7 separate regions of the Homo sapiens genome follow, and all the other regions are linked to region 1. Evidence: promoter capture Hi-C in human tissues and cell types (Jung and others, 2019). All regions are on one chromosome and are shown on one strand. Each heading gives the region's core, a stretch centred on a gene start or on the middle of the fragment in contact. The rest is flanking DNA. Distances are from core to core; before and after follow the strand shown.

The links. The method cuts DNA at HindIII sites, captures the fragments that hold promoters and counts their contacts. A contact is called where the count stands out against the background at its distance.
Region 2: a contact is called between a fragment that was not itself captured here and the fragment with the promoter of CLIC6 in region 1, in 1 of the 25 tissues and cell types used here (dorsolateral prefrontal cortex).
Region 3: a fragment that was not itself captured here is called in contact with the fragment with the promoter of CLIC6 in region 1 in 2 of the 25 tissues and cell types used here (dorsolateral prefrontal cortex and lymphoblastoid cells).
Region 4: a fragment that was not itself captured here is called in contact with the fragment with the promoter of CLIC6 in region 1 in 1 of the 25 tissues and cell types used here (spleen).
Region 5: a contact is called between a fragment that was not itself captured here and the fragment with the promoter of CLIC6 in region 1, in 1 of the 25 tissues and cell types used here (dorsolateral prefrontal cortex).
Region 6: a fragment that was not itself captured here is called in contact with the fragment with the promoter of CLIC6 in region 1 in 1 of the 25 tissues and cell types used here (dorsolateral prefrontal cortex).
Region 7: a fragment that was not itself captured here is called in contact with the fragment with the promoter of CLIC6 in region 1 in 1 of the 25 tissues and cell types used here (dorsolateral prefrontal cortex).

Annotation. Positions count from the first base shown.
Region 1 is chr21:34,666,783-34,671,022 of GRCh38, forward strand. CLIC6 (chloride intracellular channel 6) reads left to right here and starts at 2,212. Exons shown (of 6, transcript NM_053277.3): 1 at 2,212-3,980. The coding sequence starts at 2,607. RefSeq lists silencers at 2,505-2,944, 3,845-3,924. The HindIII fragment of the contact is 4,429 bases long and covers 851-4,240 here.
Region 2 is chr21:36,045,730-36,049,969 of GRCh38, forward strand. It overlaps SETD4 (SET domain containing 4), which reads right to left. Exons shown (of 12, transcript NM_017438.5): 5 at 2,579-2,667; 6 at 1-282. Among named protein-coding and RNA genes, the nearest start is that of SETD4, 13 kb to the right of the region's middle. The HindIII fragment of the contact is 5,011 bases long and covers 1-4,240 here.
Region 3 is chr21:36,015,299-36,019,538 of GRCh38, forward strand. It overlaps the pseudogene RPL23AP3. Among named protein-coding and RNA genes, the nearest start is that of LINC01436, 12 kb to the left of the region's middle. The HindIII fragment of the contact is 6,263 bases long and covers 1-4,240 here.
Region 4 is chr21:35,995,676-35,999,915 of GRCh38, forward strand. All of the region lies in intron 1 of LOC101928269 (a long non-coding RNA gene), which reads right to left. Among named protein-coding and RNA genes, the nearest start is that of LINC01436, 7.5 kb to the right of the region's middle. The HindIII fragment of the contact is 5,560 bases long and covers 1-4,240 here.
Region 5 is chr21:35,977,290-35,981,529 of GRCh38, forward strand. All of the region lies in intron 4 of LOC101928269 (a long non-coding RNA gene), which reads right to left. Among named protein-coding and RNA genes, the nearest start is that of LINC01436, 26 kb to the right of the region's middle. The HindIII fragment of the contact is 4,270 bases long and covers 1-4,220 here.
Region 6 is chr21:35,948,547-35,952,786 of GRCh38, forward strand. No RefSeq gene overlaps it. Among named protein-coding and RNA genes, the nearest start is that of LINC01436, 55 kb to the right of the region's middle. RefSeq lists an enhancer at 4,124-4,240. The HindIII fragment of the contact is 4,357 bases long and covers 22-4,240 here.
Region 7 is chr21:35,922,849-35,927,088 of GRCh38, forward strand. No RefSeq gene overlaps it. Among named protein-coding and RNA genes, the nearest start is that of LINC01436, 80 kb to the right of the region's middle. The HindIII fragment of the contact is 4,384 bases long and covers 74-4,240 here.

The DNA of each region.
Region 1 (4,240 bases), core at 962-3,461:
CATTATTCAGGCCAGTTCTCAGCCACTCAGCCAACAGCTTTGTTTCCGACTGTGCCAAGTCTGCAAACAGTAGCTGATCATCTTTAGCTCAATTCAAAAGGAGGTTTTTCTAGATATTCCAACCACACCCCCCCCCAATAGCCAGCACATTTCTATCAAGTTTGATTGAGTTAGAGTTTATGAAATATTTCCTGAATGACTGAATACACACGTGCCTTCAAATACATATGCACCAACCTGAACTAGTTTTGGAAAATACTTTCCTCAGTTAGTTTTATACTTTGGGGGGTAAGCTAATGTCACAAGACACTCTATTGACAGAAATTCTTATCTACTGACTTTGCTAAAAGAATTTGCTAAATATTATTACTCGCATGAGTGTCTTTAATTTGGTTCTTTGTAAACATTGAGCATTGAAGACGGTTTGTTATTAAGGACAAAGTTATGTATCTAACTAATCTCACATTTTTCTAAGCAGCGCAAATAAACCCAGAGCCCTTCAATGGTTCACAGGTCCACAATCCTTTTATACACATTCTGAAATCCTAAAAGGCTCTGAATACTGAAAGCTGTTTTGGGAACTCATCTAGAATCAGAACCAGAAAGGCTTGAACTCAGCTGGAGGTGAACCTAAACTGGGGGTGGGGGGCCTGAAGCTTGTATGATTTTACCATATCTCACCAAATGTGATGCCTGTCTTACTGCAGAAATATTAATGTGTTTGATCACAAAGTGATGTTCTGTGTTATGTAATATACAGTAAAATCACTCAATCATCTTTCTAACAATTCTGTTTTCTGAAACACATCCGGGCTCATGGGATTTGCATAAAGCACTGTAAACCTGTACTGTGTTTGCTGTTCCGGGCTGAACGTGCTGGCTTCATCTTTCTTTACAAGATAAGGGTGATGGCTGCTACCTTGCCCCGGTGAATGCAGCAGGATTCCTTTTCTAGGTGCCTAGAGCTTTTACGGCTCACGTGCATCTCTGGCTCACCTGTGTGAGTGTCATGCTTTGACTAGATGCCACTTTGTGGTGATGAAGCTTCTGGCCTGTACCTACCCAGACAGAGCACAGCCTTGGAGAAAGGTAGCATGAAGCTGAGTGTCTCTGGGCTCCTGTCCTGTCATCCATCAGTGATGAGCAATGGGAAGTAGAAGGAGACACATTATGTTCATGGCCAAAGGTGTGACCCCAAGCCACATCAAAGGCACACCCAGCTCTTTCAACGAAAACAACCTTCTGTGGGCATGAGGGGCTCATGTATCTTAGGCCAATATCAAAGCCATATAAAGCCTGATGAATCAAGTCAGTCTTGAGCTGGGATCCCCGTTCCACCACATTTACATAGTGCCACCTTGGGTAACCCAGTTTCTTGGTAACCCACTAGAAGTAGCCTGGCTTATAATAAACTTACGACATACTTTTCACCATAATAACTTCCTTTTTAAAGTAGGTATTGGGTCTGTGATCCTGGGAGAACCCTAACCCAGGGAATTCCATAGCTCCCCTCTTTCACATCTTGGATTTTCTTTTCTCCACCTCCAGATTCCCAAGCTCTTAACTTGGAGGCAGAAGCACTGGTGGTGAGTTTAGAAATCTAGGAGAATCAGCAAGATACACAGACTCTTACAGTCTTAAGAGACCCGGGAGATGAAGGTGTAACCTTTTTCCAGCGCAGGGCTCCCACGATCCTCCAGACAGGCCCGGAGAAGCGGACCCTCATGGACAACAGCGCCCATCTCTGGTCAGAGAAACTCGACTGGCTCCTTGTGCGTCTATATGAGGGGCCTCTGGAACCTCTCCGGGGGCCCTGCAGACATGGGAAGGCGGCCAGCGTAGCCTCCCCAGCTTCTTCTCTCAGGGATTTACACCCTTGCTCTTGGACATCAGGCACAATGTGGACATCTTCAGTTGGGTACCGGGGGAGCTTGATGCTTCACTCCTGGGGTAAGGTGGGGATTAGGTGTTTGGGTGTCGGGGTGTGTGTTTGGAGGGGGTGATTTAAGTGACTCTGGAACTTGAAGCCATTCTAGAGAACAACACCCAAGCGGCCAGGAGAACCAGAATCTTTTCATCAACATCCACAAGGGTCACGAGAAAGGCTGTCATTGGCCAAGCTCCTAGGCTACCCAAACAAAGGAGGGAGGAGGGGAAGACAAACCCCGCCCAAGCCCCAGGGGATGGAGTTGGCACCAAGGACTTCTGGTCAACCCCAGGACAGCGGACAGCGGGCCGGGCACTTCCAAAGGCGCAGGAGCGAAGCAGCCCTCTCCAGCCGTGCACTGCACCTCCGCGGCCCGCGGGCGAGATTGGGGTCCCGGTGGGAAGCAGACGCGCAATCGGGGAGAAGCTCCAGCAGTGGAGGAAGAGTCCAGGGAGTTTCAGCTGGGCAGAAGGGGCGCAGAGGCTTGGGGCCAAGCGGAGTTTGCCCTGCGGGTCCTGCGCAAGGCCCCAGTGCCCCGGCTAAACCTTTGCCGCAGGATCCCGGAGCCGGCGTCCTTCAAGGAGCACAGAGGGCCCCGTAGCACGCCCCTTGCCCAGCGCCACCGACCCTTAAGCAGCGTCAAGGAAGGAGTCCCGATCAAGGACAGGGATCTGCGGCCATGGCCGAGGCCGCGGAGCCGGAGGGGGTTGCCCCGGGTCCCCAGGGGCCGCCGGAGGTCCCCGCGCCTCTGGCTGAGAGACCCGGAGAGCCAGGAGCCGCGGGCGGGGAGGCAGAAGGGCCGGAGGGGAGCGAGGGCGCAGAGGAGGCGCCGAGGGGCGCCGCCGCTGTGAAGGAGGCAGGAGGCGGCGGGCCAGACAGGGGCCCGGAGGCCGAGGCGCGGGGCACGAGGGGGGCGCACGGCGAGACTGAGGCCGAGGAGGGAGCCCCGGAGGGTGCCGAGGTGCCCCAAGGAGGGGAGGAGACAAGCGGCGCGCAGCAGGTGGAGGGGGCGAGCCCGGGACGCGGCGCGCAGGGCGAGCCCCGCGGGGAGGCTCAGAGGGAGCCCGAGGACTCTGCGGCCCCCGAGAGGCAGGAGGAGGCGGAGCAGAGGCCTGAGGTCCCGGAAGGTAGCGCGTCCGGGGAGGCGGGGGACAGCGTAGACGCGGAGGGCCCGCTGGGGGACAACATAGAAGCGGAGGGCCCGGCGGGCGACAGCGTAGAGGCGGAGGGCCGGGTGGGGGACAGCGTAGACGCGGAAGGTCCGGCGGGGGACAGCGTAGACGCGGAGGGCCCGCTGGGGGACAACATACAAGCCGAGGGCCCGGCGGGGGACAGCGTAGACGCGGAGGGCCGGGTGGGGGACAGCGTAGACGCGGAAGGTCCGGCGGGGGACAGCGTAGACGCGGAGGGCCGGGTGGGGGACAGCGTAGAGGCGGGGGACCCGGCGGGGGACGGCGTAGAAGCGGGGGTCCCGGCGGGGGACAGCGTAGAAGCCGAAGGCCCGGCGGGGGACAGCATGGACGCCGAGGGTCCGGCAGGAAGGGCGCGCCGGGTCTCGGGTGAGCCGCAGCAATCGGGGGACGGCAGCCTCTCGCCCCAGGCCGAGGCAATTGAGGTCGCAGCCGGGGAGAGTGCGGGGCGCAGCCCCGGTGAGCTCGCCTGGGACGCAGCGGAGGAGGCGGAGGTCCCGGGGGTAAAGGGGTCCGAAGAAGCGGCCCCCGGGGACGCAAGGGCAGACGCTGGCGAGGACAGGGTAGGGGATGGGCCACAGCAGGAGCCGGGGGAGGACGAAGAGAGACGAGAGCGGAGCCCGGAGGGGCCAAGGGAGGAGGAAGCAGCGGGGGGCGAAGAGGAATCCCCCGACAGCAGCCCACATGGGGAGGCCTCCAGGGGCGCCGCGGAGCCTGAGGCCCAGCTCAGCAACCACCTGGCCGAGGAGGGCCCCGCCGAGGGTAGCGGCGAGGCCGCGCGCGTGAACGGCCGCCGGGAGGACGGAGAGGCGTCCGAGCCCCGGGCCCTGGGGCAGGAGCACGACATCACCCTCTTCGTCAAGGTAAAGCTCGCTTCCCTCAATTCTTAGGACGACCCCCTTCCATTCGAGGTCTTGGTCATCTCAGATCCCAGAGGGACGCGCAGGGAGGAACCCTTGGTGGTATCCTGATTGTCATCAGGCGCTTCCATGCGCGGGCGGTAGGCGGGACAGCCGGGATTTCCCGGAGAAGAGTTTCCAGGGCATTTGCGGGAGGACTCAATGGTTTGGAAGCAAAGACTTTGGGGGTGGGGGCGACGGGGAGTGCGATGGGGGCCAATGAG
Region 2 (4,240 bases), core at 523-3,022, 1.4 Mb after region 1:
CTGAAGATGCTGTCAACAGCCTCCGCAAACAGAGGCTGCAGAGAAGAGAAAAAGTCTCTGGAGGAAGCAAAGAACTCCTGCACGTGGGCTCTCTGCTCTTCAGCCTTTGCTTTTAAAGATTTGGGAAGAAGGTTCACCACTTCCGGCTCCAAACAAACAGGGCAGGTATACGCCTTGGGTAAAATCTCCAGGTAAGGCTTCCAAAGAGATCGGTGCCCAGCATGCTTTTCTGAAACTAAAAAGGTGCACAGCGCCAGCAGAGGAGATGGAGGAGGCTTCCACCTTTGAAAATTAAAAGCCAGTTTAAAGGAATTACTTTGATTCAAAATACGAAATAAGCCAAGCAGTTTGTTTTGCTGCCAGAAGGAGTGTGTTCAAACTGTCAACACACTCAGTTTACTTAACAGACTCAAGAGTTCCTTCCTTCCTTCCTTAAGGCTCTTCCTCTCCAGGGGAGCACAGCCCCAGTGCTAGTGCTCTGAAAGAGCCATACTTACATGTCAGAAAAACTGACTCACTAAGCCAAGTTCCAGGTTTGTTTGCAAGAGATTCCTCTTTGCAAAAAAACCTCTTTGCTTCCAACTTGGTTCTCCAGTTGTAAACCTTTTGACCTAAGTCCATTTGTCTCACCTATGTAAAGATATAAAATATGGTGGGGAAAAAATGGTGGAAAGAACTGAGACCTGCACCATCCGATATAGTAATCACTGGGTACACAGAGCTATTTAAATTTAACCTTTAATTATTTAGAATTGAATATTTAAAATTCAATCCCTTGGTAAGATAAGCTATGTTTTAATTGCACAATAGCCATTCAGAGCTAGTGGCCACCATACTGGACAATGCATAAAAAACATCTGTCATTGCTAAAAGCTCTATTGGAGGGCACCAACCTAAACCAAAACTGAATATGCTCATATACAGTTGTTGCAGTTCTAAAGCTTTTATTCCTAAGTTTACCTGCTCTATTACAAATTATGTATCACAGTATTTTTACTTGCACAATTGCCGATAAAAAGATCTCATGTTGCCTGAATGTATTTAGAAAGTTTTCATCAATCCTTCGACATCCAGATTCCTATACTGCCATACATTCTACTCAAAATTTCAGAATGATTCAGAAAATGTTAACAATGACAGCATCATTGTCTCTACACAGGCCTAAAAGACCTATTCACTCTCTTCCAAAAACATGCCAGGGGGAAAAAAGACCAGCACTTACCTAATGGTTAAGAGACAGTATACGCCAGGCACAGTGGCCGTTTGCCTATATCCCAGCACTTTGGGAAGCCAAAGTGGGTGGATCACTTGAGGCCAGGAGTTTGAGACCAGCCTGACCAACATGGAGAAACCCCATCTCTACTAAAAATACAAAATTAGCAGGGCATGGTGGCGCACACCTGTAATCCCAGCTATTTGGGAGGCTGAGGCATGAGAACTGCTTGAACCCGGAAGGTGGAGGTTGCAGGGAGCCAAGATCACGCCACTGCACTTCAGCCTAGGCAACACAGCAAGACCTTGTCTCAAAAAAGAAAGAAAAAAACGGTATACTCTTTCAACCCTTGTATTTAGAAATCCCTTCCACTGCGGGTCGCTCTCACTCTGTCCTCAAAGATGCCCCAAAACAAAGGCCCAGCAGAACGTGTGCCAGAAAACAGTTCTTCCCCATCAGCCTCCTCTCTTCTATACCTAAATAAAACTAATTCTTTCACAAAATTAACAGCTCTTCAAAGTTCAAGGAAAACTGAAGTACAATAACGGTAGAAATAAGAGAGAGTAACTTACATTTGTCAAGAGCTACTATGATGGAAGAGAAGAGGCTACTATGAGCCAAGGCACTCAGCTGTGATTTACATATATTATCCCATTTAATTTTTATTTCTTAGTCAGTGATGGATCGGGATATCATACCCACACTCCAGGAAGCCTATTAAAAACCTTAGAAATGCCATTTACAGTGAATTAAGAACAAACTTTCTGGCCGGGCACGGTGGCTCACACCTGTAATCCCAGCACTTTGGGAGGCTGAGGCGAGTGGATCACAAGGTCAGGAGCTCAAGACGAGCCTGGCCAAAATGGTGAAACCCTGTCTCTACTAAAAATACAAAAAAAAAAAAAAAAAAAAAATTAGCTGGGCGTGGTGGCAGGCACCTGTAATCCCAGCTACTTGGGAGGCTGAGGCACGAGAATCACTTGAACCTGGGAGGCAGTGGTTGCAATAAGCCAAGATCACGACATTGCACTCCAGCCTGGCAACAGGTGAGACTCCATCTCAAGCAAGAGAGAGAGAAAGAGAGAGAGAGAGACAAGGAAGGAAGGAAGGAAGAGAGGGAGGGAGGGAGGGAAGGAGGGAAGGAGGGAGGGAGGGAGGGAGGAAGGCAGGCAGGCAGGCAGGCAGGAAGGCAGGGAGGGAGGGCAAACTTTCTAGAATGGAGTAAACTTTTCACATCATTCAGGTTATTTATCAGCTCTACAAGGGACTGGGTTCTAATGAATTGTGTCTCAAGTGACATATTTGCCATTGACAGACCTTAAGGAGAAGCACTTGCACCAGGTAAGCAAGTGTGTGGTCACTTACTTAGTAATGTATGCCCCTAAGTAGCTTCGAATCACTGTGTCCGTGGTGAGCAGGCAACTCTCAGGCAACGAAATAATCATCTGTCCCTCCTGGCCAAAAGGAAAGTAAAGTTGAGGACGCCTATGCTTTGGGAAGGACCCATGAGTATGAGTCTTACAAAGTCGTTGATCCCACAATCACCTACCAGTAACCCACTGTAACTCAACCAAAAGCCACCAATGAGCCTACCAATGGAGTCGCTCCCAACTCTGCGAGTCAGCAGATGCACACGAGGCTGCTCCAAGGCGAGGCCCCACAGCCCCAACAAAAATGAAAGGTCAATTATGTGACTGACACCCACAAGCAGTCAACCCTTCACCAGAATGAGTGGTGGAAACATGCTGACAATTCAAATTATACTGTTTCTTCACTTTTTTTTTTTTTTTTTGAGATGGAGTTTTGCTCTTGTCTCCCAGGCTAGAGTGCAATGGCGTGATCTCAGCTCACTGCAACCTCCACCTCCCAGGTTCAAGCGATTCTCCTGCCTCAGCCTCCCAAGCAGCTGGGATTACAGGCACCCATCACCATGATGGTGCCTAATTTTTGTATTTTTAGTAGAGACAGGGTTTCACCTATTTCTTCACTTTCTTATGCCAGGAAATAGTGCTACCAATAGTAAACAGACAGAAACTACCCCCAAAAAATTGTATCCAGTGAAATCCAAGTGGCCAGGTGATGGTCTGCTCTCTACATAACCCACGCTTATGAGCTAAAGAAAGGCCAGCATGCCCAACACAGTAAGCGTCGAACTCTACCACTTGCAAGAGTATCGTTTTCAGTGTCTCCCACGGAGATAGAACCATGGAAAGAAAAATTAGATGTAAAGTAATAGAAAACAGTTTAAATAAACACTGCATGAAGAAGCCAGATGTAAGACTCTCCTTTAATTCTAACTGGCATCTAAGTTGGTTAAAAATCTCAGCCAAGGCCAGGCGCGGTGGCTCATGCCTGTCATCCCAGCACTTTGGGAGGCTGAGGCAGGTGGATCGCTTGAGGTCAGGAGTTCAAGACCAGCCTGACCAACATGATGAAACCACATCTCTACTAAAAATACAAAAATTAGCTGGCCATGGTGGTGCACACCTGTCATCCCAGCTACTCGGGAGGCTGAGGCAGGAGAATCACTTGAACTCGAGAGGCAGAGGTGGCAGTGAGCCGAGATTGCGCCACTGTACTCTAGCCTGGGCGACAGAACGTGACTCCGTCTCAAAAAAGAAAAAAAAAATCTCAGCCAAAAAATCTTCCGGGATCAATTTCTGGTTTCCTCATCTGTAAAGCAAGATTAAGCTGGATGATCACTATGGTCACTTCCCATTCCAACATCCTATGATCTTTTGGTTTGAAAATATTTGGGTAAATCTCTTTATCATCAAAATGCAAACTGTACACTTCACTGTGCATTTCACTATATGTAAAATATGTCTCAATTTTCAAAAACTTTTGATAAAACAACCATATTTGAATGTACATGTGAAACAACTGCCAATTATTTCATGACCTAAACAAAAACTACCTGTAGTTACTGCTGCATACATGACATTTCTCATCCCCAAATTCTGCTACAGAATAAAGTCAATTACACCTTCCTCCAAAAACAAAAATATTGTACAACAATATGAATGT
Region 3 (4,240 bases), core at 837-3,336, 1.3 Mb after region 1:
TGACTTGATTGCTGTGTTTCTGATTAGCGGCTTTTCAATTGCATTACAAATGTTGGAAACATCCATTAGTCAGTATTTAGCAACATTTTAGGAACTGATTAAAGTGAATCCGTGTTTCAGAAACATAGAACTACTTGTGCTGTGAACTCAACAGTGAAGATATCCAACAGATCCTTTGGGAAGAGAGAAATAGACAAGAATCTTAAGCCACCTTCCTTTTGTTGTTGTTGTTAGAGACAGTCTCACTGTCACCCAGGCTGGACTGCAGTGGTGTGATCGTAGCTCACTGCAGCCTCAATCTCCCAATCTCAAGCAATCCTCCCACCTCAGCCTCTTAAGTAGCTGGGACTACAGGTGCACACCACCACACCTGGCTCATTTTTTTTTCGAATTTTTAGTAGAGACGAGCTCTTGCTATGTTGCCCAGGCTAGTCTCAAACTCCTAGCCTCAAGCAGTCCTTAAGCCTCAGCCTCCCAAAGTGCTGGGATTACAGGCATGAGCCACTGCTCCCATCCCAGGCCATCTTCTGCATGTAATTTAATTTCTGCAGGTTTGCCAGTTGGCTTGTCACTTTTACCCAGAAGTATCTGAGAGAGAAAAAAAAAAAAATTAAAGCAGGTGTGGGGCAAGAGGGAAGGCAGACACAAACGCAATCCAATGTTATAGTAGAAGATCACTGCTTAGACTATCTCCATAGTTCATCTTTGCTTTGGTTTCCATCTTAATTTTTTTATGTGAAAAGATATACATATATTTAGAATTAGCCAGCTGGACTCAGTTTAGATGATCCCAATTTTGTTGGCAACATCCAAAGCATCATAATCAGGAGCCAGTGGAACATATGCCTTCTTCTCTCCATCAGGCCGAATCAGGGTGTTGACCTTGGCCATGTCAATATCATAGAGCTTCTTCACAGCCTGTTTGATCTGGTGCTTGTTGGCTTTAACATCCACTATGAACACAAGTGTGTTGCTGTCTCCTATCTTCTTCATGGCCGACTCAGTGGTCAGCGGAAACTTGATGATAGCATAGTGGTCAAGCTTGTTTCTTCTGGGGGCACTCTTCCAAGGATATTTGGGCTGCCTCCAGAGTCGCAGTGTCTTGGGCCACTGGAAGGTGGGTGACGTGTGGATCATTTTTTTTGTGGCTGTGGACACCTTTCAACACTGCCTTCTTGGCCTTTAAAGCCTTCGCTTTGGCTTCGGCTTTAGGAGGGCAGGAGCTTCCTTCTTTGCTTTCGGTGCCATCTTGTGAAAAGCCCATCTTAATTTTTAAATTGAGATTGGTAAAGTTTTTCTATTTCTTCATAGTAAATATTTTCAGCTTTGCAGGCCATACATAGTCTCTGTTGCAACTACTCAACTCTGCCTTTGTAAGAACGAAGCAGCTATAGGCAATATGTAAATGAAGGGTGTGGCTGTGTTTCCATGAAACTTTATTAATAAAAACAGGAATCAGGGGCCGGGCACGGTGGCTCGTGCCTGTAATCCCAGCACTTTGGGAGGGCGAGGTGGGAAGATCACTTGAGCTCAGGAGTTCAAAACCAGCCTGGCCAACATGGTGAAACCCTGTCTCTACAAAAAATACAAAAATTAGGCGGGTGTGGTGGCACGCACCTGTAGTCCCAGCTACTCAGGAGGCTGAGGCAGGAGAATCACTTTGAACCCAGGAGGCGGAGGTTGCATGCAGTGAGCCAAGATCGCACCACTGCACCCAGCCTGGGTGACAGAACGAGACTCCATCTCAAAAACAAAAACAAAAACAAAAAACAGGCATCAGGTTGGATTTGGCCCATGGGTCACAGTTCATCAACCCAGCTCTTCACTATGCTAGAATCAAGAGCCATGATTATGTTTTACAATTTTGATAGCTGCTGACATCACTGATTGTATGTCATATTTACCCTACTTCAGACCAACATTTATTTCCTTTTCTTTTTGTACATTGCCAGATTACATTGCGATGCTATATCACAAATTTGGAGGTACCACATTTTAATGGGAAGGAAATATTACGATATGGAGACAAATATACATCACTCCAAGCCTCCCCACCGCTATCCTCTACCCCCATGAAAATGAATGATTGTGGAGGAGTGGAGCAAGTTTTCAGTGGAAATAGTGAAATGATTCTAAAATCCCTCTTTTTCCACCGAGCATGGTGGTTCACACCTGTAATCCCAGCACTTTGGGAGGCTGAGGCGGGTGGATAACCTGAGGTCAGGAGTTCGAGACCAGCCTGACCAACATGGTGAAACCCCATCTCTACTAAAAATACAAAAATTAGCTGGGCGTGGTGGTGCACGCCTGTAGTCCCAGCTACTCGGGAGACTGAGACAGGAGAATTGCTTGAACCTGGGAGGCAGAGGTTGCAGTGAGCCAAGATACCACCACTGCACTCCAGCCTAGGTGACGGAGCAAGACTCCATCTCAAAAAAACAAAAAACAAACCAAAAACACCCTCAAAAAAACAAAAGAAACGCTTCGCTTCTCCTCCTCAGTCCTTAACTTCCTCTCTTCTTCCCCTTTCAGAGTGAGATTTTGCGTGGTAAGATTTGGGGAGGCATGTTTTGATATTCCTTGTGATTTTGAATGGGAGGCCAAGCAGGGCTTCAGGAAGTGGAGCCCAGAGCTGGTGTTCCTGGGCTTGGTGACAGGTCCTGGGCCCCTCCCTGTCTGAGGATACCATTCTATGTGTCCCCATGACAACTCCGAGGTTTGATGCTGGTGGAGCTGATTGCTTCCATGAGGGCTTCATAGTCTAATTCTAGCACACTCTCCATTTCTCAATGGACCACTCCAAAAAGCTTCCCTCGAAGGATCAGTCTGGCCAAGAAAAACTTGCATGGCCCTGGGTACCACCATTTCTACCTGCACAGCTCCGGACAACCGCAGAATCCTGATGCCCGCTCTATGTGGGACCATGAAAGGCCCTCTCGATGTTGTCCTGCTCTCAGATTTCTTTTTCCAGAAAGTTCAGCTGTGGCTCCCATTTCTACTGCTATGTAACACTGCTGTGCTCAGGCTGGGGAAGCCCCTAATTTTCCAACAGGGAAATAATCTTGTACATTGAGACCAACCGTAACATTATCCCAAGCAGCTATGAGATGTGCACAAGTAATTTGTTATTAATCCAAATTTAGCCTTCTCCCTGACATAAAATTAAATTATGCCTTCAAAAGCCTAAAATGGCTTAAACATTATCCCTAAAATAATGTCACTTCCGATGTGCTTTCTGTAGTGAAAAAAAAGAAGTTAGGTGAGAATGAATGAACCACCTATGCTTCCCCTCACAACCCAGAAGCCCTTGATCCACAGTGAGCAGCCGTGGGAAATACAAATTGTTCTGCTGCTTGCAAGGTGTGGTTTTATAGTTTCTGTTGTTTTCTTTTGCATTTCATTCTGAAATATATTCTTTTTTTTTTTTTTTTTGAGACATAGTCTCGCTCTGTTGCCCAGGCTGGAGTGGAGTGATGTGATCTCGGCTGTCTGCAACCTCCGCCTTCCAGGTTCAAGTGATTCTCCTGCCTCAGCCTTCTGAGTAGCTGGGATTATAGATGCCCGCCACCACACCTGGCTAATTTTTATTTTGTATTTTTGGTAGAGATGGGGTTTCACCATGGTGGCCAGGCTGGTCTTGAAGTCCTGACCTCAAGCTATCTACCCCCCTCAGCCTCCCAAAGTGCTGAGATTATAGGCGTGAGCCACCGTGCCTGGCCCTGAGATAGATTTTTAACATGAAAGATGTCAAGGCTAAACACACGTGAGTAACCCCTGCACTGCTGATGAACGAATATGCCACCCTGCCTCTCTCCAAGCAAAGAGGAGAAACCTGCCATCAGGCTGTATGAACTCTTCTTTGCTTTTTTCCAGTATTGTCATTCAGATTAGCTTTCATGCACGTACCACAAGAAAAATCAGATGTCCTGGATTTGTCCTGTGTTCCTCATCAGCAGAGGAAGCCACTAGCAGCCCTTACGAGAATCAAGGCTACTCTACTGGAACTCTTCTTACATAGCCAAAAATGTGTGAATTCCATTTACTGTGATTTTTAACAAAAATGTGTTTATTTAAATGTGTTTATTGTGGTACTCGCTTGCTTAATTATCTTATTTATTTTATTTGTTGTATTTTTGAGACAGGTTCTCACTCTGTAGCCCAGACTAGAGTGCAGTGATGCGATCCTAGCTCACTGTAGCCTCAACCTCCTGGGCTCAAGCAATCCTCCTGCCTCAGCCTC
Region 4 (4,240 bases), core at 1,225-3,724, 1.3 Mb after region 1:
TGTGGTTTAGTCTTCAAACAAGTTGAAAGGTAAGCAAATACCCTTCCTTCCAGGTTACATTTGACTGCCCTCAGCGTCAGGTGTGTTTTGTGAATGCCAGCATTATCATAAAAAGCCACAATTCACCCACACACAACCACAGAACCCCCATCTAAAATAAACCAGAACTGGGGCAGAGCTTTATCCAAAGAACAAAATCAAATGTGCTTAAAAGGTGATACAGCCAGCTTCACGATCGTGGATCTTCTTGAAGTGGGAAATGAGAGAATTAAGAGAAATCAGATGAGTAATTCAAACCACTGTAAAACCCTGCCAAACATCACAAATGAAGTCTTTTTTTATTTATTTTTTTATTTCAATAGGTTTTTGGGGAACAGGTGGTGTTTGGTTACATGAATAAGTTCTTAAGTGGCGATTTCTGGGATTTGGGTGCACCCATCAGCCAAGCAGTGTACACTGTACCCAATGTGTAGTCTTTTACCCCTCACCCCCTCCCAGCCTTTCCCCCCGAGTCCCGAAAGTCCAATGTATTATTCTTATGCCTTTGCATCCTCATAGCTTAGCTCCCTCAAATGAAGTCTTAACAACACTGACTAAATGTGCACTGTCTAACTCAGTAGTCATTAGCACATGTGGCTATTTCAATTTAAACTTTAGTTCATTAAACTGAAATAACATTTAAAATTCAGCTCTGCAGTCATGCTAACCACATATATCAAGTGCTCAAAAGCCACATGTGGTTAGTGACTACCATATTGGGCAGCACAGATATAAAACATTTGTATCATCATAGAAAGTTATATTTTCCAGTATATAAGACTAACTACTAAAAAAGGGAAAGGGAGTAGAAAAAAATGGTCTTTAAAAAAAAAAAGAGGTCCAAAACCTAAGCATCCACTGTATACCTCTCTTGCAGCTTCCTGGAGCCTCATTCAAACACAATAAACATTCAGTTGACTTGTTATGAGACTCTAGGACTAAATAACCAATGTTGTTCCATTAAAAGATAGTAGCAGTACATGAGCCATGTCTTATTATTTTTGTAATTATTATAAATTTTTAAATAAACTGAGAGCAACCCTTTTTGCAAAAGATTGGTTGATGGCCTCCTGTTTATTCTGGGAATCTGTTCTCCTGATTTCTGGTGGGATGATTTTAGATCTTGCTGGAAAGGAATAGGAAAACATCCTACTTCCCACTTCAAGCACTTTTAGGATATATTTATTTATGATCCTTATTCTTTCCATAAATGTTCAACATAGATTGAATGATTTTTCTTATTTTAGGAATTTTCTTAGCATAAGCATTTGCTAAGGACCACCCCAAATTTGGATGTTATTATGGAACAGTAGAGATTATCTTAGTCAAGGCAAAGCAAGTAATGAAAACCAACTTGGGCTACCTTGATCAGAAAATGAAATTTGTGAGAAGGATGCGGGGGTGCTTCATGGAACCCGAGGATAAGGAGACTTCATGAGCAACTGGGGGACTGGGAAATCCACGAGCTCTCTGCCTCTTAGCTCCACATCTCTTTGTACAACTACTTTCTCCAGAACTTCATTGTTTACTTCACTTCATAGGGTAGAAAAAGACCATCTTATAGCTCTAAGGAATACCTATGGCCACTCCATGACTTCTGGATTTTTGTGTGCTCCTTGGTACTCAGGATTTCTGAGACCCAATTCTAAGTGCCCAGGAAAGCTGATTTACCCGGCTTGCCCCAGTGATCCAAACAACCATGGAAGGAGGGGGGAACCGTCTTAATGCAAACGTGTCAGCAACAGGTACTGAGGTCTCAGAAATCCTGAGTACCAAGGAGCACGCCCTCAGCACTGTGAGACCTGAGTAGATGGTTCAAAATCCAGCCATGGGCCACTAAATTTCCACTTAAAATCATTGTCATGGAATCATTCATAATTTACAGTTGCCATTTTGCCATTGACAAAATTGTGGAAAGAAGGAACTTCCTGACTTGTCTAAAGTCATAGCTACTCATTGGCAGAGACAAAAGAATTATATGTGGACCTTGATTCCTGCCTCCTCCTATTTCTACCACATCCCATTGAAACTTTCACCAATTCAATAGAATTGAAATTGTTGAATTTGCACCCACTAATGATCCCTCAATTATTAACTATTCCCATACTTGAATGTTGTGTACACACTTTTGCACAGTTCTAATGATATGTGCAGCAGGAATCTTGTCTAGGCTGTAGATGAAGCTTGTGGAGGTGAAAGACCCACCCACATGCATGGCATCCACTAATTATCATGGGGTCCAGAAACCTCCCCCCAAATTACTGGAATCTCTGTTGAGCCCAGGAGCAGGTAGAACAGTGCCAAGTAGGGGAAGCCCACAGAAGGTGGGAATAGAGGAGACTGTGACAGTCCCTGGGACAGAGTCTACTGTGCTGGATAAAGGTTGAACCTGATGTGTCAGATTCACCAACAGGACCTGTGGGATAGAGGGAAATGGTAATTCTAGGTACGACTCTGCCTGGATGCTGCCCGCAGGCTCAACCACATTGACAGTGTGTACATGATTTGGGGAAGAAAAAGGATGTACAATACAAACAATTAAGAGAGCTGTAAATTCTTGGGAGCCAGCACCCAGCATCTCTGAAGAGGGAGCGCCTCCAGAAAAGCAGAGATTGGAAGGTGTTTCCCTAGCGGCAAGAGAGGGGTAAGCCCCAGCACACCTAAAGTCCAGGAGGCAACAGAGGCTGCCTTCCATCCCCACTTTCACTGCTGCCCCCACCCCACCGCCCCAAGCAAGTATCAGCAGACCAAAGAAGTCTTAGAGCTTTAAGGGGACTTGGAGCTCCAGAAACAAAAGTAAGTTCTACCAACAAGTCCAATGTAGAAAACTACGGGGAACGACGCTGATTGGCCCCGTTTGCATTACCTGACAACTCCAGGACCAATCACCATGGTGGGAAGGATGTGGCACCATAAGCAGCACACCCTGCGTCAGGTGCCCGTTCAGCCCCCCACAACCACACATGTTAGGGGAGGACCAGCAGGACCTCAAAGGTGAAGAGAGGTACTGTTACTGGAGGAAGAAGTGCTAAACACACCAAAACAGCAGATACCTACTGGGTACTCCCCACCTGAGGGATTTCTACACAGTTAACCTAACAAGGTCAAGAATAAAAGGTATGAATAAGCTGAAATCACTTTAGAGAGGAGTTTCTGAAAAAGAAGATGCTAAGATAAGACCTTAAAGTTCTCCAAGAGGATAATATGGAAAAAAGACAAGGAACTAAGACAACCAAGAAATAGAAGTATAGGAATGAAAAAGACAAAAGAAATAAACTAAAGAGCAATAAAAGTTGTCACATAGGCTGGGCGCGCTGGCTCACGCCTGTAATCCCACCACTGTGGAAGGCCGAGGCCGGTGGATCACCTGAGGTCAGGATTTCGAGATCAAACCTGGCCAACTTGGTGAAATTCCATCTCTATTAAAAAGACAAAAAATCAGCAGGATTAGCAGGCAGGTGCCTGTAATCCCTACTCAGGAGACTGAAGCAGGAGACTCACTTGAACCCGGGAGGCAGAGGTTGCAGTGAGCCAAGACCACGCCACGGCACTCCAGCCTGAGCAACAGAGCGAGACTCCATCCCAAAAAAAAAAATTGTCACGTAGTAGCACCTCCTAACTCTACATGCATTCTTTCATTTAATCCTCCTAAACAGCCCTGAAACAATTCTGCATGATTGATTATCACCCCCACTTAGAGAAATCTGAGTTTCACAAAATGAAATCACTCACCCAAGGTCATTCAGCTAGTTATGCAGCTGGATTGGAAATGTAACCTAGGTTAGACTGACCTCCAAGCCCCTCCCACCCCCTTTTATGTCTCTCTGCCCCCTCCCCACTATACTACCCCCGCATCCTGCAGAGTCTGAAAGTCAATCACGAGGACTTTGGAGCTTGTGTGAATATTTTTGAAAATGCAGTAATATCCATATCAGAAGTTCGCATGTAAGAATTCAATAACTACTTTGAGTTTAACTGGAATGGTAGGAATTGGAAAGCCAGGAAGGTGTGAGGTAGGGCTTCCCACATGTTCATGCCATAAGCATCTCTGTGTGCTTGTTAAAACTGCACCATCTAGGTCCTCATCCCCAGAGATTCCAATTCTTTGGGTCTGGGGTGAGGCCCAAGAAGTGCCACTGCAACAAGCATCAGCTGATTCTGAGGTCATCCTTCAGAAACCCTGGGGAGAGACCACGGAGGA
Region 5 (4,240 bases), core at 836-3,335, 1.3 Mb after region 1:
AAGGAGCAGCCCCATCCTGTGGCCTGGATTTCTCTAGGTGGGCTCAACTCACCCTCTTCCATTTGTCCTGCTCGTTTCTGCAGAGGCTACGCTGATATGTCACTTTCTTTTTTTCAGGGACCTCAGTCTTGGCCTCTCCTTTTGAACTGCTCAAGGTCCCCTTACATGTGTTCTTCATTGAGGCTTTTTTGGCAGAGGTTTGCTTCCCCAGAGATTAATAAATGCCCACAGCACACTTTGCTGAGGAAGCTGGGTGACACTAGGAGAGCTCTCTGTGTCTCTCTACCCTCCATGTTCTCTAGCAACCACATTCTCCATAGCAGTCTGTGCTCTGAAAGTTACAGGAGAGGACTCGCTGGGAAAAACCATTTTTCCAACTGGACTCCAAGTTGGAAACTGTCAAGTGGAAACATAAATACAATGAAAGGCTCAGGAAGAAAACGCAACAATAAATCTCAAGAAGCAGAGAATAGAATGGTGCATGTCAGGGGCTGTGGAGGGGGGAAAAGGGGAGCTTTTCAGTGGGTATAAAGTTTCAGTTATGCAAGATGATATGGTTTGGCTGTGTCTCCACCCAAATCTCATCGAACTGTACTCCCATAATTCCCACATGTTGTGGGAGGGACCTGATGGAGATAATTGAATCACAGGGGCAGTTTCTCCCATACTGTTCTCATGGTAGTAAATAAGTTTCACGAGATCTGATGGTTTGATAAGGGGAAACTCCTTTCGCTTGGCTCTCATTCTCTCTCTTGCCGCCACCATGTAAGAAGTGCCTTTTGCCTTCCGCCATGATCTTGAGGTCTCCCTAGCCACGTGGAACTGTGAGTTCATTAAACCTCTTTCTTTTGTAAATTACCCAGTCTTGGGTATGTCTTTATCAGCAGCATGAAAATGAACCAATACACAAGATGAATGAGTTCTAGAGATCTGTTGCACAATGTCATGCCTATAGTTTACACAGTATCGTACACGTAAGAATGTGTTAAGAGGGCAGATCTCATGTTAAACATTTTTACCACAAAAAAATAAACATATGATAAAATTAAGAACACAAGGAAACTTTTGGAGAGGATATGTTCATTACCTTGATTGTTGGGATAGTATCCTGGGTATAAGCCTATGTCAAATTCACCAAATCGTATACATCGAACATGTGCAGTTTTGGTTTTGGTTTTGTTTTGACACAGGGTCTTGTTCTGTTGCCCAGGCTGGATGGAGTACAGTGGTGCAATCACAGCTCACCGCAGCTTCAAACTCCTGGGCTCAAGCAATCCTCCCATGTCAGCCTCTCATGTAGCTGGGACCACAGGCACGTGCCACCACACCAGTCTAATATTTTTTATTTTTTTGTAGAGACAGTCTCACTTTGTTTCCCAGGCTGGTCTCAAACTCCTGGGCTCAAGCAATCCTCCTGCCTCAGCCTCCAAAGTGCTGGGATTACAGGTATGAGCCCCTGTGGCCTGCCCAGTTTTTCAAATGTATCGATTACACTTCAATAAAGCTGTTTTCCAAATAAAATGAAAAAGAAAACTCAACCATAGCGGGCGATGGGCTGTGAAGTGGGAGGGAGGATTCCTCCATGGCTCCCCGACTTTGAACTTGGATGCCTAGGTAAATGGCAAACCAGGGAAGACACAATAGAGGCGGGTATTGGTGGATTTCCACCCACAACTGCCCCACATAGGCAACCGCTATATGAAATGTTATCACCTCTTCGTTCATGATATATATATGCAGTGATGTGATGATAAATGTTTAGCAACCATATCTCCAAAAAATTGAATGTATGCGTGTGGGTATGTGTGTCTATTCCTGTACAAGTTTACTACAAATTTTTAAAATTTTTTCCCAGCTTCATTAAGGTATAATTGACAAATCAAAAGTATACATATTTATAGTGTATAATGTGATGTTTTGGTCTGTGTACACATTGTAAAAGATTAAATCAAGCTAACATATCCATCACCTCACCTCACATACTTAGCTTATGTTTGTGGTAAGAATACTTAAGATCTACTCTCTTAGCAATTTTAAGTATATGATACTGTTATGATCTGAATGTGTGTGTCCCTCCAAAATGCACATGTTGAAGCCTAATCCCCAATGCAATAGTCTTAAGGGACCTTTAGGAGGTGAGGAGATCACTGGGGTGGAGCCCTCGCAGATGAGATTAGTGCCCTTATAAAAGAGAACTGAGGAAGCTTGTTCTTCCCTTCTGCCCTGTGAGGACCCAGCTAGAAGGCATCATCTATGAAGCAGAGAGCAAACCCTCATTAGACACTGAATCTTCTAGCACCTTGATCTTGGACTTCCTCAGCCTCCAGAACTGTAAGCAATAAATTTCTGTTGTTTGTAAGCCACTCAGTTTATGATATTTTGTTATAGCAACCCAAACAGACCAAGACAAATACATTAACTATAGTTATCATGCTGTGTCTTATAAATTTTTTGACATGAAGGATGTATAGCACACAATTTACAAATAATAAGATTGCCTTTTATGTAAATCGGTAAAGTCAATTGATTCTTACAGAATGGTTTTGTTGATTTTTGCCAAACCATTGTAATTGCAGCCAACATATGGCTGCAACTGATGAACAAGTGTAGCTCCAATATGAATGCTGGTTAATATTTTTGTTTTACATTAACAAGTAAGAAGAAAGCAAAATAAATGACAAAGACATATGGTGGAAAACATTTTCATCATTCATAAGGGCGACTCTTTGTTAAATCAGGTAGTAGTTGTCAAATACTAGAAGACTGTTTCCTCAATTTTTGTGCCATTTACAATGCAGCAGCTGAAGACATGACAAACTTTTAAGTCGAATCTGCATGATTAACATTTCCCCACACTTCCTTGTGTCTAGATAATCAACAAAACAAGCAAGCTCTGATTGGCAGAATTTGTCAATTTTTTTGGTGTAAATACTCCCATTGTGGCATATTCCAGGCTACCAAGGTGATGTCACTGAACACAGAGTTGCAAAGAGATGTACAGTAGCACACCAGAGTATTGTATTTTCACCACACAGATGCAATAGCTGGCCAGGTTCGGTGGCGCACGCCTGTAATCCTAGCACTTTGGGAGACTGAGGCGGGCAGATCACTTGAGGTTAGGAGTTCAAGACCAGTCTGGCCAACATGGTGAAATCCCACCTCTACTAAAAATACAAAAATTAGCCAGGTGTGGTAGTAAACACCTGTAATCCCAGCTACTTGGGAGGCTAAGGCAGGAGAATCGCTTGAATCCACGAGGTGGAGGTTGCAGTGAGCCGAGATGGTGCCATTGCACTCCAGCCTGGGCAACAAGAGTGAAACTCCGTCTCAAAAAAATAAAAATAAACAGATGCAATAGCTATAAATAACCTTAAAAGCACAGCTAATAATAAAAGGCAGTAAAATGATTAAGAAATGATGAGCTTAGAATGTTATCATCAAATTCAATATAATTTATTTAACAATAAGTGTAATTAATTTTGAATCATGGCTGTGTTTAACAACTGGCTTGCAAAATTCCTGAAAAGTTAACGGTTGGCTCTTGCATGCCAGTTCAGCCCAGCCCCAATGCACCGTGACATAAATGCCCAAACAATATGTTATTTTTTGTACTTTAAAAAATGGTAATATGCTGCATGCAATCTGGGAGTTGCTTTTTCATACCACATTATGTCACTCTTGTCTTTTGACCCTCAACATCATCCTTGCCCCTTCTTTGCTCTCAGCTGATGTATCACAGGATGGGGCAGCCTGGGAACAGCCCTTAGGGTCTCTGTTCTGAGATCATCAGTGAGAAGCACATGGTGGGACAAAGACAGATTTCACTCTTCCTGGGGCAGCGACAGCGGCAGACAACCGGGCTTCTGCAGTAGCAACAGTGGCTTCCTGATACCTCCTGACTTCTGAGGAGCACCACCTCCCTTGGCTTTTGCTCCCTGACCATCCTTTGCAACCATTTTTTCTTTCTTTTTTTTTTTTTTTGAGACAGAATCTCACTGTCGCCCAGGCTGGAGTACAGTAGCACAATCTCTGCTCACTGCAACCTCCGCCACCCGAGTTCAAACGATTCTCCTGACTCAGGCACCCGCCCCCATGCTTGGCTAATTTTTGTATTTTGAGTAGAGACGGGGTTCACCACGTTGGCCAGGATGGCCTTGCAACCATTTTCTAGGCACCTAATTTCCTGAAGTAAACCCTTCCTGCTGGAAATATACAGAATGGTTTCTGGTTCTCAGACTAA
Region 6 (4,240 bases), core at 950-3,449, 1.3 Mb after region 1:
TGTTTGATTAGTTCTATTCAGCTTGAATAATTCTAGTTGTGTGATATAAGAAAAAGAGAAAAAACTGTACCCTGGCAAACAGCTAAGAAATCCTTAATGGGCTTTGAGGGTTCCCTATATTCATTATATTTTTAATGTAACGGGCAGCCACCATGTGCCATGCATACTGCTAGAAACATAAGATGCCATGAGAATGTGGCCCTAGATCCTTGGAAGAGTGGGGCTACTTCTTTCCCAATTGTTGAATCTTTTTATGCCTATTTTTGGTTTTAATACATGTTATGGAAGCATAATCGTCCTTCCAAAAATACTTGGTAACCAACATTGGTTTAATGGTGTATAAAATTTATTTTGGCTTTAACAAGGCATCTGGATCACAGATTCCTATAAAGGTTGCAAAGTCAGGCCCCAAGTGATACAGTCCATGGGACACTGCCTTTCCCATCCCTATCCATTCCTCCTGCTCCTACTCCCAGCTGCCTTGTGTGAAAAGGTCAGTTGTACTGGTTTGCCCAGGATAATGAAATGTCACTGAATGAGCTGCTATAACACTAACTATTTTTACTGCTTTTGCATGTTCCTTTCTACTTTTATCTCATCTTTGAAAGATGTTTTACGACATCTTTGCAAGATGAATGGAAAAGGCAATGGGGCATGCACTGAAATGTGGACTATGCTAAAGCTTTGCAACTCAAGACCAAATTCCACATAGATACTTCCTATTCACTTCCATAGTCTGCTTGCTGCTTTCCCTGCCTCCTCCACCCTATCCCACCCCAACCAATTCAGATGGACTTCAAAAATTCAAGTCCAGTAGGGCACAGTAGCTTATACCAGTAATCCCAATGCTTTCAGAGGCCAAGTCAGGAGATCACTTGAGGCCAGGAGTTCAAGACCAGCCCAGGCAACACAGTAAGACCCTGTCTCTACAAAAAATATAAATAAATAAAAATTTTAAATTAGCTGAGCATGGTTGTGGGTGCCTGTAGTCCCAGCTACTTGGGAGGCTGAGGCAAGAGTATTACTTGAGCCCAGGAGTTTGAGGTTATAATGAGCTATGATTGCACCACTTCACTCCAGCCTGGGTGACAGAGTAAGACCCTATCTCTAAAATGAATGAATAAATGAATGAATGAATGAATAAATAAATAAATGGATTAATTTAAAAAAAATCAAATCTGATAATGATATTACCTGGCCTAATCCTTTCCAATGGTTCCATGTCACTTACCAAGGACAGTCAGAACTGCTCATGCATATTCCAGGCCTTTCTGGTCATCCCTGCTGGCTCCGTCCCCACTCCTGCAGCCAATGTGACAGCCCCACACCTGTGCACATGCATTCCCCAAACCCGCACCATCCTCATCCCATCTCATCACCAGAAGAGCAACTCCTATCTGCACAAGCATCCCATCTTCCATGAAACATGTTTCTTAGAAAAATGTTTAATTAGGAAAGAAATTTAAATCAGTACCTTCTTTGAAGAAGACCGGAGGGATGGGTTTGGCCCTGGAGAGAAAGTTATACCCAATCTTAGAGAATCTTACCCTGCTTTTTCTTTTATTCAGTACCCAGTAACTACTGATGAGGTGGACTCTGTACCACACATTGATTTCACTACTAAAGCCCCAGGAGAATAGACAAGTCCTGGAACCAAGCGGGGCTGGCAAGACTTTATGGGAAAATGTGCATAGAAGTAAAACATGCAAACAAGGTATTTTGAGTCCTTGTGAAATATACTTCTGCAGAAGTATATCTTCCACTTTCATCACTGTCCCCAAGAACGTTTGGGGAATAAGGTGGCCACTTGGATAGCTAAGCTGCAAAACCATCAGATGATACATGTAAATGGCAGGTTTAAGAGAAAGAATAGCTCCCAGTCCAGCAATCCACCCATGGGGTTGGATTACCATGTCGAAAGACAAAATGTGCTCCTTGTAAACTAGAGTGGCCAGCCATGGAATCTGCCCAGCCTGTGGGCAAATGTTGGCAGGCCCCATCTAAGCACTGTGCAGGGAAGGGGCTGGCCCAAGGACTCCAGCTGCCTGGCCCAGGGGCAGCTCTATCTAAATGAAAGAGTGTATTAATTTCCTAGAGCTGCCATAACAAATTAGCACAAACTGAGTGGTTAAAAACAACAGAATTGTATGGTTTCACAGTTTTGGAAGCCAGAAATCTGATATCAAGGTGTCATCAGGGTTGGCTACTTCTACAGGCTCTGAGGGACAGTGCATTCCATGCCTCTTTCTAGCTTCTGGGGGCTGTCAGGAATCCTTGACACTCCTTGGCTTGTAGCTTCAGAACTCCAATCTCTGCATCTGTCTTCACATGGCCTTCTTTTCTTCTCTTGTAAGGATATAGAATTTGTAAATTGACACTGGATTTAGGGCACACCTAATCAAGGATGATTTCATCTTGAAATCCTTAACATAATTACATCTGCAAAGACTCTTTTTCCAAATAGGGTCACATTTATAGGGTTCAGGTGGACACACCTTTTGAGTGGCTCACCATTCAATCCACTGCAGAAAGCATACATTATTCTGACTGAACCTTTGCCACTGATATCCCCAGTTCTGAATCCAAGCTGATCACACTTCTTTCTGATTGTGATTTCATTCCCCAGGTAATCAGACCTGCCTGGCATTTTTGAGAATCCAGGCTCTGTGCAGTTACATTTCTTGTAAAAAATCAATGGATTGGAGATCCGGTTTTACACTTGAGTCTCATGAGAGAGGTGTGTGTCTGTGCTAGAGAGAGAAACAAAACCATCTCTTAATGTGTTCAGCCAATCTTCTCTGAGCCTGCCAGCCTAGGGCCAAACCCAAGCCTGGCAAATTCTCCAAGGTAAGCCATCCTGGGAGGGCCCTGGAGACACTGCCTATCTGCAAAAGACCCTCTGCTATGCGTGGCCAAGTGAGGACCGAGAATCAGTGCGAACTAGAGCTTCTCAATGAGCCAGTAGTCACCCCCGATCCTTCCACCCTATGTCTGTGCTGACCAATGGGGTGCACAGTAGTGTGCACTAATGATGTGACCCCTTGGATTATCCTTTTGGAAGATGAAGAGTGGAGCCAGTCAAGAGGCAGAAGAAGAGATAAAGAAGAACCTTAAAGACCATCCTGACTCCCCATGAACTGTCTCAGATTGAGCGATGCCCACTGTTCAAACACAAGTGTGACCAACCCATGGCCAGGTAGCTGCTGCCTGAGAAGTAAGGGCCCTCTGCCCTGGAATTTCACCTGCAGCCTCTCCTCCCCAAATACACTCTGCCATGTGTCGTTGAACCTGAAATCATAGTTTCTAAGCCTCTCTCAGCTACTGTCAAAAAAGCCAATAGGAATAGATCTACATTAAGACTTTTTAACCCATTTTGTGTTGCTAGTTTTGTAATTGCTGTTGGTGTTTTTACATGATTTCCAAAAGATCTGGCTTCCTGGAGAAGCTGGCAGTTTTCCAGTGATCAAAACTATTCTGTGATAAGAAAAGGATTGGCCGGGCGCAGTGGTTCACACTTGTAATCCCAGCACTTTGGGAGGCCAAGATGGATGGATCACTTGAGGTCAAGAGCTCGAGACTAGCCTGGCCAACACTATGAAACCCCGTCTCTGCTAAAAACACAAAAACTGCCAGGTGAGGTGGCAGGTGCCTGTAATCCCAGCTACTCGGGAAGCTGAGGCCTTGAAACCAGGAGGTAGAAGTTGCAGTGAGCCGAGATTATGCCACTGCACTCCAGCCTGGGCAAAAGAACGAGACCCTGTCTCAAAAAAAAAAAAAATGATTAGGAATTAAGATTAAAGGTCACAATGACACTATGTGTGTGTCCTCAGGGAAGACATTTCAGCAGAGAGATAAAAGCTTCCGGGTGCTTTCATCTGTGAGTTTCCAACAAACCTGTGAGCCTCCGGCAGTTGTAGAAATTCTCAGACGAGATATGAACTCATTTCCAGACCCACGGACATTGAAATAGGGAAGAAGGACCTGATGTGAAAGGACAGAGGTAAGGGCCAGTTTGTAGCACTAGAGCCAATAACTGGGAACCTCATAACTCCAACTGAGTCATCCTGGCTCATGCTTCTGAAGTTAATTTAACTTAAAGAAATATGTTTTTCTTTATGGATGAAGTGCATGGGTCTGTGCTGGGTGTCCTGCCCAGCTTCCCTTCATTTTCTGTGCCAAAATCAGCCAAAATGCTGTGTCTGTCCATCACTTTTGGCCAATCAAGCAGAAATGCAGGGGC
Region 7 (4,240 bases), core at 1,016-3,515, 1.3 Mb after region 1:
ACAAGTGCCTAGTTAATAAAAGCCTGCCTTCCATGCGTCAAAGACCTTTATGATCTTAAAGAAAGAAAAAGTGGAGACGCTGCACTGGCTGCTTTCCTTTGTCCTTCTTTTGCTATGTCCATGATGTTTGTGAGGTTTTGTTGCACTTAAAATTAATTGGTGGATATTTGGGGCAGCGAAACTATGCTGCATGAGACTGTAATGGTGGATCTGTGTCTTTATATGTTTGTCCAAACCCACAGAATGTACAATGTGGAGGGTGAAACTTAGAGTAAACCACGGGCTCTGGGTGATGGACATGTAGCAATGCAGGTTCATCAATTGGAATAAATGCACCACTCTGATGAGGGATGTTTCTAGTTGGGGAAGCCATGCATGTGTGGGGCCTGAGGTGTGTGGGAAATCTCTGCACCTTCCTCTCGGTTTTGCTGTGTACTTAAACTGGTCTAAAAAATAAGGTCTATTAATAAATAGATAAGTAACCAATCCTGTTGGAAGCTGGCCTTGCTACTGCACTCACAGGCTCTTAAAAATTTGAGGGAGAATGTTTCCCTTCAAAACACAGGAAAAGTGCAGGTAGGAGCATCGTGGAAGGCCACCTTTGGAAGCTGGAGATTTCTGGAGAGGTTGCTCCTCCCTTAGGATGTTTATACCTGCTGTTCTCCTTACCTAGAAATCTCTTTCCACAGGTTTTGAGTGACTGATTCTTTCCTGTCATGCAGAACTCAACTTATTTATTTTTTTTCTTTTTGAGAAGAGTCTTACTCTGTCACCCAGGCTGGAGTGCAGTGGCACAATTTCGGCTCACTGCAACCTCTGCTTCCTGGGTTCAAGCCATTCTCCTGCCTCAGCCTCCCAAGGAACTGGGACTACAGGCTCACACCACCACACCCAGCTAATTTTTGTATTTTTAGTAGAGACAGGGTTTCACCATATTGGCCAGGCTGGTCTCAAACTCCTGACCTCAAGTGATCCACCCACCCTGACCTCCCAAAGTGCTGGTATTACAGGCGTGAGCCACCACGACCCACCAGAATTCAATTTAAATGTCATCTCCTCATAGAAGCCATCCCTGACAACGGTAAGGTGATGTATCTGCCAAAATGAGCAAGGAGAGAGAGACTGTGGTCCGAAGGATTGGCCCCCATCTCAGCCTCTCTCTGTGTCTATACCCTTGCCCAGCCTCATCGTGCAAAGAATGCATTTTATTTCCCCTTGACTTTCAGCTTGGCCATGTGACTTGCTTCAGCTGATGGCATGTGGGCAGAAGGAGAGTTTGCCAGGGCAGCCCAGACCTGAAGCAGCCTTTTGTTTTCCCATTTGCCTCCCAAACCTCTCCACCAGAAGAGCATGCCACTGCTAACCCCGTGGTTAACCTCCAACCCCAGGCAGAGAATGAGCGATGCCTGGAGCAGGACCACCCAGCCACACCCACCACGGGTGTGCAGCCACAATGAGTTCTCCTTTGCAGTCACTGAGTTTTGGGGTGCTACTATGTGGCATGATGTGACAAATGATATAACAGGCGTGTGGAGTTCTCTTCATAAAGAGAACTTTATGGCACCCAGCAAGCATTTGTTGGCCATTTATCACTCTCCACATCAGTCTTGCAACCCCTTTTGCATTTTGAAATTACAGATGAAGACAAAGAATAATTAGCAAGTGCTCATATTGCTTATTATCGTAACATCTGTCATATTTATATCAAATTATTCTAAATGTGCAAAATATATGTTACCCATGAGATTGAAATATGCCCTGAGGTCAGAAACTCCACTGTAACCCACTGAAGATGAGCCAGCAAAGTCCATCAAGGCTGCCTACTTGGCTCTCTATGCTTCCCCAACTTGGTGCCATGTTGTCCCTGGCACTAACCTTACAGGAGGTTGGTAGAGGGTGGAAGAGAAAGGAAGGGGGGCAAAGGACAAGAGAGAAGTTAAGAAACTGCACTGACACTTGGTTGGAACCAACAGAATCTACTCCTTACAGGGACATCACGTCCTGAGATATTTATGACTATTGCACAAGAGATCAAACGTCATCATCCTCTTGGGGAAATGGCTTCAAAACCCATGAGGCAGTTTATAAGCTCTGAAATCTCCTAACAAATGAATGGAAAATTTCTTTGGAGGTTCCATGATTTGTCTGCCAACTCCCAAGAATACGCACATACAGGCACACACAGCTGCATCCAGACCTTCCACCTCTTGCTGCTGTCAACTTTGTTAGCTGAGACAGGCCAAGACATACTCACCAGCCCCTTGCTGAGATGTGACTCACCTCTCATACCCTCTTTCCCAACATCGTCATCAATGCCACCTCCCCTTCCCACAGGCTACTCCTCACCACCAAACCACCAGAAGGTGTACAGTGGCCACAGCCATGGTGAGACACCAGCAGACTCCCACATCCCTTGCGGATTTATTTGGTTTCATCGATGCATTAGACCACACATGGGAAGAAAATGAGCAAGTGCAAGAGAAAGGTTTCTTTGATCCTAAATCTGGAAATGAAATATATTTACATAAAGCCATGAAAAGCCAGAAATGGCCAATGAGAAACCACAGCTTGACTCTCAGAGTTAAACACCATTATCAAGCTTTTGTATGTCCTTAATGGCTCCTAAAAGCTCCATTTAAAAACAAACCAAAACTCTGGCCAGAGCTGAAGAGACTCTTACAATCAGTGAGGCCTGGGCCTGGGTGAGATCCGTCAAGCTTGTAAACCTCTCATTCCACCCCTCACCACTCCCCTCACCCAGTGGCATTAACACCCGTGAGCTTCACCCATACATAACTCAGCTCAGCCACTCTTATTATCTTGGCAGCCTCCGGGAGCCTTTCGCCAAGGTTCTGGGCTCTTTCAGTCAACATGACCAATTCCACATCCTTTTATTAATTACTAACCATTTCCCCTTGTAGTCAGCCCTGAAATCCCTGCTTTGATCTGCCTGACAGGTCACATGGTGTGTGCTTCTGAACACAACCCCTCCCATGGCCGACTTCGAACTGGCAAGCCTGGCAGACATACACACAAGCTAGAAAGACATTTCCTGTAGATACAAGAAAAAGAGGGAGTTCTACCAGGAAACCAATGGCCACAGAGAATTTTTGTTAATTCATTCTTATATATAATAAATAGATTATTTATTATTAATAAATAATCTATTTATTAATTATAATAAATAATCTATTTATTAATTATAATAAATAATCTATTTATTAATTATAATAAATAATCTATTTATTAATTATAATAAATAATCTATTAATAAATAACTTGTTTATTAATTATAATAAATAATTTATTAATAAGTGATTTGTTTATTAATTATTAATAATTTATTAATTATTAATAAATAATTTATTTATTAATTATTAATGATTTTTAATTATTAATTAATATTAAATTTATTTATTTATTAATAGCCTGTTGGTATGTATTTAAGAGCAAAATAACAGTGGCTGTCAAAAACACCCTACATCCTGTCCAATTAGAGAGACCATAACTTATTTAGATCACAAAAAGACCACGATTCTGAAACCTGAAGTCTAATGAGCTGAATTATGTGCTTAACGGAGAAGACTCATGGATGAGCCCTCTTGCAGCTTCTGTTAACCTTTTCTGAAGGCACTGGGTCCTCCACAGATCCTGACTGCAGGCAGAATGGCTGGAATGATGAGATGCCTGTCTTGTAACCAAGACCAGGACATAAGCAGATGCCATTCATCCAGACCCACTTTCTTCCTTGGACCACTGTCTATATAAACAGCCTTTCTGTTATTTCCAGTGTGGCATTACAACAAACCAGACACATTTTTCAGGGCACATTGATCTATCCCAAGGGTGTAGGTCTATTAATTCCCTCGAGGCTGACAGTGGATGCTTCCAGGGAAATCTGAAGGCAAGCACACAACTGAATTTAATGAAAATGATTGATTTTTTTTGGTCCACCCCAAGTATCAAAAAGAAAACAGGCCAGGCAAGGTGGTCCGCACCTGTAATCCCAGCATTTTGGGAATCTAAGGCAGGAGGATAGCTTGAGCCTAGTAGTTTGAGACCAGCCTCGGCAGCATAGTGAGACCCCATCTCTACAAAAAAAAAAAAAAAATTAATTAGCTGGGCATAGTGGTGCTTGCCTGTAGTCCTAGCTACTGGGAAGGCTGAGGTGGGAGGATCACTTGAGCCCAGGAGTCTGAGGCTACAGTGATCAGTGATTCAATGATTGCACCACTCTACT